Regions from separate parts of the Homo sapiens genome. Here regions 1 and 2 are each linked to region 3. The links are contacts of gene promoters, found by promoter capture Hi-C in blood cells and fetal thymus (Javierre and others, 2016). All regions are on one chromosome and are shown on one strand. Each heading gives the region's core, a stretch centred on a gene start or on the middle of the fragment in contact. The rest is flanking DNA. Distances are from core to core; before and after follow the strand shown.

Region 1 (3,125 bases), core at 437-2,936, 480 kb after region 3:
CATTCCATGAGATTGCCAATTGAAGCAACAAACAGTTGGGCAGGAAGGTACAAGGGAAAAAGGAAAAAATGGCACTGACCACTGGGCTTCCCAACACGGTGAGCACAAGCTGGACATCTGTCCATGATGGAGGTACCACTGGCTACCCTGAGTGACAGCCTGGCAGATGATGACATGAGCTGCAGGAGACCTTGGTTTAACCAAGGGATCATCATTCTAATAAGCTTCTTTCTAAGCTCTGCAGCAAAGGGTTAAAACTAGGGGGTGGAGAATAGGGAAAGATCCTTGAGATAAGGATGCTCTGGGGTTAAAATGATAAACTAGAGTTTATAAAAACTTCATTGAACTAAAAATATCACTGTCCTAGACTAAGTTTAACCTGGAATGAGAAAGAAGATAAGGTATCTGTTCCAGAAAGATTTTGTAGCATGTGTATGTGTGTGATAGGAAAAAGGCTTGAAGAAGAAGAGGGGAAAGACCAGGAAAGGTTATGTAGTATGAGAATAAGGTAGGCTCTATGCTTGCACAGATTTCCCATCTGCTGTACATCTTCTTTCCTCTCTTTGTTCCTAAGGAAACTTCTCTGTCCCCTTTCATGGAGTCATAACAATGGAAGAGGTTCAGGAGAAAGGAATCAGCTCCTTGCAAGGTAAAAAGAGTTAAGAGGGTTTTTTTGTTGTTGTCATTGTTTGCTTTTAAATACTATAATTTTAAAACAATGTACTGGGAAGAACACTGCAAATGGAATTCAGGAGATCAAAGAAACCTGGGATAAATATCTCGAATTCTCTCAGGCTCAATTTCCTACTCTATAAAGTCTGGTATTTGGTAGCATTAGATGACTTCTAAGATTTCCTCCATTATACTTACATTATAATTTCTGCTCTACTTCATGAACTGGAAGGGACCTTAGGGCCCGTCAAAACCCTGAGCCAATATAAGAACATTCTCTGGGATAATTCACAAAGTGTGTTACATTTTATGAATAAGTGTTTTTAATGCCTTAGTATAAATTGGTACTTTTTTTAATATAAAGGAATTGTGGACCAGAAGAGTGGTTTTCTTCGTCATGTTACTAAAATTGAGTTCCATCAGTTTTGTGTGCGAGTACATTATTTATCCACCAAAAACCTCAAAACTGGGGCTACAAGCAGAGTTTCTCAGAAGTTCCTTGTAAAGAAGTATAAGGGCTAAGCCATTGCTACACCTTTGCCAGGTGATGTTCAAGGATAAATGCTTTTAGGGTTGGGGGGTTATGCTAGTGGCAACAATAGAGATACCCCTAAACTGCAGGTGCTCAATAACTGCAAAATTTTGTTTCTTGCTCATGTGAAGTCACGTGGGTCAGCAGAGCTCTCTACTATCCAGTGACTCAGGGGTGAAGGCTCTCTCCATCTTGTCTGCCAGCACTTCAACATATGACTTTAAGTTCTTCTGATCAGGAGGAAGAAGGATACGGGAGACACAGCAACAGTTAGGAACCTAGGACCAGAAGTGCCATGTCACTTCTGCTCTCATTCCTATCTGCCAGAACTCTGTCACATGGTCCCAACCCAGCTGAAAGGACCTGGAAAATGCAGGAAAGCACATGTCTATTCAGTGGGCACGAGTTGTCTCTGGATGAATTGATGCAATCAGGGACATAAAGCCACCAAGTGAGAGCAATTCCCTGCCTTGTGTGTTTGGAATAAATGACCAAAAGTCTTGGTTTTTAATCTGTGGCTTCTTTAAACTATTTTTATTCTAAAAAACACTTAGTTTTGAAAAACTGAGGGAACTTTGCTAGGAAGTGTGTCTTCTAAACTCTTCTTCATCACATCTGGAGAGGGAGTTGCCTTTAAGTGGCTGCATCACACTGTTGATTCATCATAAAGTTTAAGCCAACAAAAATCCCGATTTAATTGTTGGGAGAAATTGCTGCCAAGCCAGACCTTCAGATCCTGTAACTGTGCCATTTATTTTGCTTTAAACCTAAATGTAAGACTTTATATTTATTCTAAGTGTCATCCTGTTATTTTCAGACAATTGCTTCAGCCTTCTGAATTTTTAATTCAGTCATCTACTGTAATATCTATTTCTTCAATATTTGCATCATACAGCAATTTGGTGAGCATATCTTCTGTGTCTACATCCAAGTTCTTGAAAAACTAGGCCAAGGGCAGAGCCCTCCAATAGAACCAGAGACCTCCCTTGAGAGGCATCACGATTCATTAATAAACACAGTGGGTTTATTTGTTCCACTAGCTTCAAATCCTCCTTACCTTATTATCAACCAGTTCACATTTCTCCAATTTCTCAAGGACTTTTAAGATTTCATAGCACATCTAGATGAAAACCGAACTCGTTATCTCCCTTCCTAAGCCCCCTCCTTCTCCTGAATTATCTACCCATTAATGGCACCACCATTCAGCCCACTGTGCCAGCAATCTGGGAGCAATCCCACAGTCTCTCTCCTTCCTCTCCCTGAGAAGTGAACTTGAGTCAGTCCTGACACTTCGCAACTGGGGCTGCCATCCCCTCAAGCCTGTACCACTGCTTCCAAGGTTTTCTGTGGGTCTCTGGGCATTCCTCCTCCAGTCTATCCTCTTCATCTTCACTCAGTGATCTTTCAAAACACAAGTCACATCATATTACACCCTCTGATGAAAACCCATTGAAACTCCCCAGTATAAGGAAAATGTTAAAAATATTTAACATGTAGTTTGGCATAGGCAATGACCAAACAGAAGGCCAGCAGGGCTACTCCAGATGGAAAGCAGGGCACCTTCTATTCTCAGATCCTAAATGTTTCTAGGTGGCACCCTTCCATCTCCTCAGCCTCCATGCAGAGGTTTCAGCAGACCCCACATTTGCATCTGAACACGCTAGCTCTGCTTTCTCAACTTTCTCAAAGCTCCTCCCTCAACACAGAAAGGGTCTTTCTCCTCTGAGGCAGGAAAGCATTTTATACATTCAACCCCATGCCCTGGTTTTTGGTAGAAACTGGTCAGTCTTCCAGGTTTTACTCTATTGAAGCAGAGCCAAGGTTTTAGAATTTGAAAATAAATGAAATAAATAAAATAAATGAAATAAAATAAAATATATAAAACAAAAGATAAGCTCCACTCCCTCTCCCCCAAAGGCCA
Region 2 (3,125 bases), core at 476-2,975, 380 kb after region 3:
AATACACTCCCCACCAAACATATACTAGCAAATAAAAATACTCCTTCAAGTCGGTTACACTGACTTGACTGATGTTTGCAGCAATGAGTGGGATTTACATTGTAGCCAAATAACTTAGAATATTGAAAACCCCTAATTTAAAAAGCTCTATGACTCTTTCCTGTGTTCCAGAGCTTTCCTCTCTCCCTGTTTCCCTCTATTTTCTTATCTGCCTCTTCTCTCACAGTAGCAAAAACTTTAAATACCTTTCATTTTCTTATGCAAAATAATTCAGTTTAGCTCTGCTAAATCTCCATACACCATACTCAGTGCATAGACTCTTTTTAAATCCAAAGTCCCACTAATGTATTCTGCTAAACCAAATGCCATCTAAATCTGAGGGTCACTCTTGCTTCCTACTCCATCTCTTTCTGCAAGAGAAAGGAACAGTGAAGAGATTTATTCCTCCAATTAAATAAATTATGCCCCATTCCCACCCCCGTGTTCTCCACGGGAAGGCAGAAGTTGCTCTGTTCAGTTGTGGTTTAAAATGACAATTTCCCCCTCTGCATTGCACTAGCGTGCATTGGATCACGGCCAGCACTATCCACTTAAGTTTTCCATCTCTGATTTCCAAAGCATTCAGGGAAAGCCTCAGCCTCAGACATTATGAATATGCCTAAGAACAGAACTTCTGAGGCAAAAATAAAAATAATAAAAAATCACAATTTAATCAAGAGAGAGCCCTCAAGTACCCATTTAATAGGTAAGCTATGTTCTTGTCCTCTCTCATACTGTACAATTCAGCATCTGATTGAGTTGCCTTTCCAAAGCCTACTGTTAAGTCCTATAAACTTTCAGAAATGGATTGACCCAGGAGAAGCCTTTATAGAAACATCTAAATATGAAAGATATACTCTCTGAATAGTCTCTAGCCAGATTCTGGAAGAATATTGGTTCTCACGGGCAAGCCATAATACAAATTCCCACTTGTTTCTCCACAGTCATGTCCTCACTACTGCCCTTACCCCCTTTCTTGGAGAGTTTGACCTAAGCCTCTCCTCCTGGTTCTCATAGCTCCAGTGAATGGGAGGGCACATGTGACATCACATACCTGTTTATGGCTAAATGAATCATGGTAACTAATCCAATTAGATTGTTTTCCTGGGGCAATGAGCTAAGACTAACAGACAGTAGCTAAAATAGTCTGAGCAGAGCAGAGCAAACCTCCCGGCAGAGACAGAAGCACAAAGCAGGTGCAGAGCTGTGTGACAGGATGCACACTGGCGTCTAGAGCTGGGAAAAGAAGTGAAGTTCCAGAAAGCCATCTAGTTCCTGCTTCCAACCCCTTAGGAGGTCTGGATGCACCCCTTGCTTTCTGGCTTGCTGAGATAGCCCAACAACACAGCAATAAGCTTATCTTAATGCATCAGCTAGTTTGTAGCCAAGTGAACAGAAATTATTCTACATGGGATGGGAGAAAGAAAAATAGGAATGTATTTTAATTTCTTTTCATATATTTCAAATAAATTTTCAAATAAGTTTATGTACTCTTTTTTGGGTATATATGTTAAGTAGGGAAGACTCATATATCAAGGAGTTTCAATAAAGTATGATTGCAACGTAAAGGTTGCTACAAGATGTTCTTCTATGATATTCGAGGACCATTAAAAAAATAAAACATACTTTAGTACTGAATGAAATGTCATGGTGAACTTCTTATCCTTGGTAACCAAAGAACTTGCTTAAAAAATCATCGTATGCTGTTGAAGTATCTCTGAAGATATTTTACATGTAGTAACCTCTGTATAGTGAATTTTATTTGAGGGGGCTTCATAGGAGAGCTTTGCAAGATGTTAAAGAATATGCTGTTTGTCAACTTTCTGAAGAAATCTCTGCTTTTTAGGGCCTCACAGCCAAACAAACAAACACAAACAAACTTGTAAAGCAATACTGAAAAATATGTGCCCATTCCAAGAAATGGAGTGAAATACATTAGCAAATTAAGAAATGTAATGGAGTGTGGGAAAAGCCTACATCACAATTAAATAAGGACTTTGACTCCATGTAAAGCTTCATGTATAACTCTTTATATAAGGAATTCATACTACTGACAATTGGCCATGAAATAGACAAAAAGGACATGGTTTAGAGGACAAGAAGTAGGCCCCACACTCACTAACTGTTAAGCACACTACTTAAACCCAGTGAGCCTCTGTTTCCTCACTCGTAGTGAGGATGACAACATTATTTACCTCAATGGGATGTTGTGGACATTTAACACTATGATGCATATAAAGCACTTGGCACGTGCATTGATGTTGTCAATAAATCTCAGACCACTTGTAGCAGTAATTTTTGTTATCTGCATTATTACAAATGTATCTGGATATTCTAGGGCAATTCTCTTAGCATATGAAGAGTTTGATGTGCTGGCTGGAGATTGGCAAGCAACTTGCCTCTGCTTGACAAGACCACTCCCACTTCTGATGTGTGCCTGTGTGTATGCATTAAATTGTTCTGTACTAAATCCTATGATTTCTGCCACCAGGTATCAGTTTCTTGGGCTTTCTTTAGCTTGTTCTACGTACAGGCAAAACAGAGAAGTTGTTTTGATATTTTGCTGTTTAACATTTCAAATTACCAGCAAAACAATGAAATTCCTGGACCTCCCATACCCTATTTATCTCAATCAGCAACCTATTTCATGTGAGCCATCACACAGGCAATCAGAGCACAATTGGACTAGATGGGGAAAGTGATGGGACCTACTAGGAGAATACAATTGGGACCTGGCCATACTTTAGTTATACAAAGTATAACTGTGATACATTTCCCTTGTTTTCTCCACACCTATAATTTCTAGAACTTTGCCAGTCTTAAACTATGCACCATGCCCTCAAAAACGTTGCTTTTTCTTCCTTAGATCACTCAAAGTTACATAAACAGCATTTTGGACTTAAAAATTGAGCTCAAAACACTCTTGTTACTGAATACCACAAATATACACATAATGGTTAATGTGCAACTACACTGAAGCATTGTCGTATTTACTCCTAGATGTCTCACCTCTCTAACATTCCCAATGTATCATTTAGGGAGAAATTTGTGTGTTTTTACATGCACGCAGTACACAATTTAAATTG
Region 3 (2,500 bases), core at 1-2,500:
CTTCAGGTCACCTTTATGCTCCCAGATGGTATTCAGCTAGCAGCAGTCTACACTTCAGGCATCCATCTTCCACCTGAACAAAAATTAGAACTGGCTAAGAGAAACCATACACTTAAGGCTAGCAGGGTCAAGATCACGCGTGGAAACGTAAAAGCAGCAACTGTTACTTATGCAGCTCCTACACCAAAGGTATCAAATTTAAGGGCAGGAAAAGGCTGCAAAGCGTTTAATTTACGCCTTTTTTGACACCACATTCACTAGTTTCCAAAGTGAATGGGCAACACAAAGGCTGACACTGCGTGAGGTAGGCTTTATGGCATAAGGTTGCTGACTGGCTGACAGTAATGCCGATTACAGCCTAAAAACGGACAATACATTTCAGAGAAATTTTCTCACGATTTAAAATCCGACTTAATAATGAAAAGTGAAATGCGATGCGTTTTAAATGGCGACTGGTCTTGCACGAACGTGAAAACTCACCTGTAGGGTAGGTGATCACTCCCGACGAGCACCGCACGTGGAAACAGCTGTAACCAGGCACGCTGCTTTTAAGTTATTTTATACGGGGGCAGGGCAAGCATAAAGTCAGTTATACGGTAAGGCCTTTTCACTGACGAAAATAAAACCAGGCTTATCTGGAGAACTCCCTGGCATAGTCGATGATGTAAACACAAATCGACGAAGCTCCCCGTTTCCAAACGTGGGAACGCAGGCCTGAGGCCAGGCCGCTGCCCTTGTTCACGGCCCCGGACACTTCGGACACAGGCCGCCGCAGTCGACTCACCAGACTCAGGGTGGCCGCGTTCCCCCGCCCGGCGCCCCTGCGTGAGAGACCACGCGGCCACAGCCAGGCGCCATCCCAGAGGACCCAGAGCAAAAACCACAGCAAGCTCGCACCAAAAGGAAGAAAGGACAGGCTTCCGTCCCACAATGCTTTTCTACAAGTGGAAGGACCCACTGTCCGAGAGCGCGAGGGGGGAGCGGGCTGTACCATCGGCCGCTGCGCTATGGCGAGACGCCGCCGTGTGGCCGGAGGGAGAAGTGCCAGTGAGGGACCGAGGGGCGTGTCACCAAAGGGAGGAGGAGCCTGGGTTCTCAGCCCGAGTCACCTCTGCGGATGTGTGGCCAGTTCTTTCCACAGAGGAGGTATCCAGACATCCCCCCACCCGACCAGGGTCAAGAGCATATGATCAGTGCTGGCAGCGGCAGGAGCCCAAAGGACTTTAGACCACGTATTTTGGGACCCGACAGAATTCATGAGTCCAGCTGAGGAAGAGTAGAGTCATTCATTCGAAAGATATTTAGTCAGCACTTACTATGCTCCAGGCCCTGGCCTGAGTGCCTGGGAATCAGGTGTGGGTGAGCCAGGCAAGGTTTCTGTGGTACATTCTGCTTGGGTGAGTAGGCCACTGACCAAGTGAGCCCGGATGCTGAAATTCTACAATGTAAGTGCCAGGAGGGCAGCAAAAGAGGGTCATGCCATAGGGTAGCGCTGTCCGATGGAAACAGTGTGAGCCATGAGTGTAATTTTAAATTTTCCAATTGCCACATAAAATGTGAAAAGAACGCCGGGCGCGGTGGCTCATGCCTGTAATCCCAGCACTTTGGCAGGCTGAGGCAGGTGATCACCTGAAGTCAGGAGTTCAAGACCAGCCTGGCCAACATGGCAAAACCCCGTCTCTACTAAAAATACAAAAATTACTTGGGCTTGGTGGCGGGCGTCTATAATCCCAGCTACTTGGGAGGCTGAGGCAGGAGAAATGGCTTGAACCCGGGCGGGGTGGGGGTGGAGGTTGCGGTGAGCCGAGATCATGCCACTTGACTCCAGCCTGGACAAAAGGGCGAAACTCCGTCTCAAAAAAAAAAAAAAAAAAGTAAAAAGAAACAGATCAAATTAATTTTAATAATAACCCAACATATTTTAAATATTTCAACAGGCAATCAATATGAGATTATTAATAAGATATTTCTTTTATATCTACTAAGTCATAAAAATCCGGTGTATATTTTATACTTCCAGCACATTTCCGTTCAGACTAGACACATTTCAAGTGTTCAGTAGCTCATGGGGCTAGGAATAGGAAGACTGGAAGTGAACTCCGAGCAGATGTGTGAAGGCGGTTATGCAAGATCTGGAGACAGCAGGCCTTGGCCAGTGTGGCTGGAGTCGAGTAAGGAGTGTAGAGTGACAAGATGCAGCTGGAGAGCCAGGCAGGAGCAAGGCACTTAGGGTCTTGTCACACAGGGCAAGGTGTTGGGATTTTATGCTGAAATCTTAGAGTTGATTAATTATCACCACAAAAATTAAGCAGAGTTTGTTAATTGGCTTTTTTCCTGATAACCATAACTCCTTGAAGGGACAGGACAAGTGGCAGCAAGACAAGTTGTATGATAACAACTAGGTCTCCATGTTTCTCTAAGTCCTAGCAGAGATTCATCCAGAGACCAGTTTTAGCACCTTTCGTTGTTTCTTTGAAGCCTACTTCTATAAAAGAAAGAA

Evidence for each region. The method cuts DNA at HindIII sites, captures the fragments that hold promoters and counts their contacts. A CHiCAGO score of 5 or more calls a contact.
Region 1: a fragment that was not itself captured here is called in contact with the fragment with the promoter of EPB41L4A-AS1 in region 3 in 1 of 17 cell types (M2 macrophages); the score reaches 5.8 in M2 macrophages.
Region 2: a contact is called between a fragment that was not itself captured here and the fragment with the promoter of EPB41L4A-AS1 in region 3, in 2 of 17 cell types (M0 macrophages and M1 macrophages). The highest score is 5.5, in M0 macrophages.

The regions. Positions count from the first base shown.
Region 1 is chr5:111,675,464-111,678,588 of GRCh38, reverse strand. The region is part of intron 2 of STARD4-AS1 (STARD4 antisense RNA 1); the gene reads right to left. Among named protein-coding and RNA genes, the nearest start is that of NREP, 80 kb to the left of the region's middle. The HindIII fragment of the contact is 2,919 bases long and covers 227-3,125 here.
Region 2 is chr5:111,777,468-111,780,592 of GRCh38, reverse strand. It overlaps a transcript of NREP not described here. Among named protein-coding and RNA genes, the nearest start is that of NREP, 22 kb to the right of the region's middle. The HindIII fragment of the contact is 658 bases long and covers 1,397-2,054 here.
Region 3 is chr5:112,159,276-112,161,775 of GRCh38, reverse strand. It overlaps EPB41L4A-AS1 (EPB41L4A antisense RNA 1), which reads right to left and starts at 1,250. Exons shown (of 3, transcript NR_015370.2): 1 at 481-1,250; 2 at 1-73. SNORA13 (small nucleolar RNA, H/ACA box 13) reads right to left here and starts at 291; the gene lies at 159-291. It also overlaps a transcript of EPB41L4A not described here. RefSeq lists enhancers at 446-495, 606-655, 676-775, 551-1,283, 1,156-1,365 and 1 more. The HindIII fragment of the contact is 7,805 bases long and covers 1-2,500 here.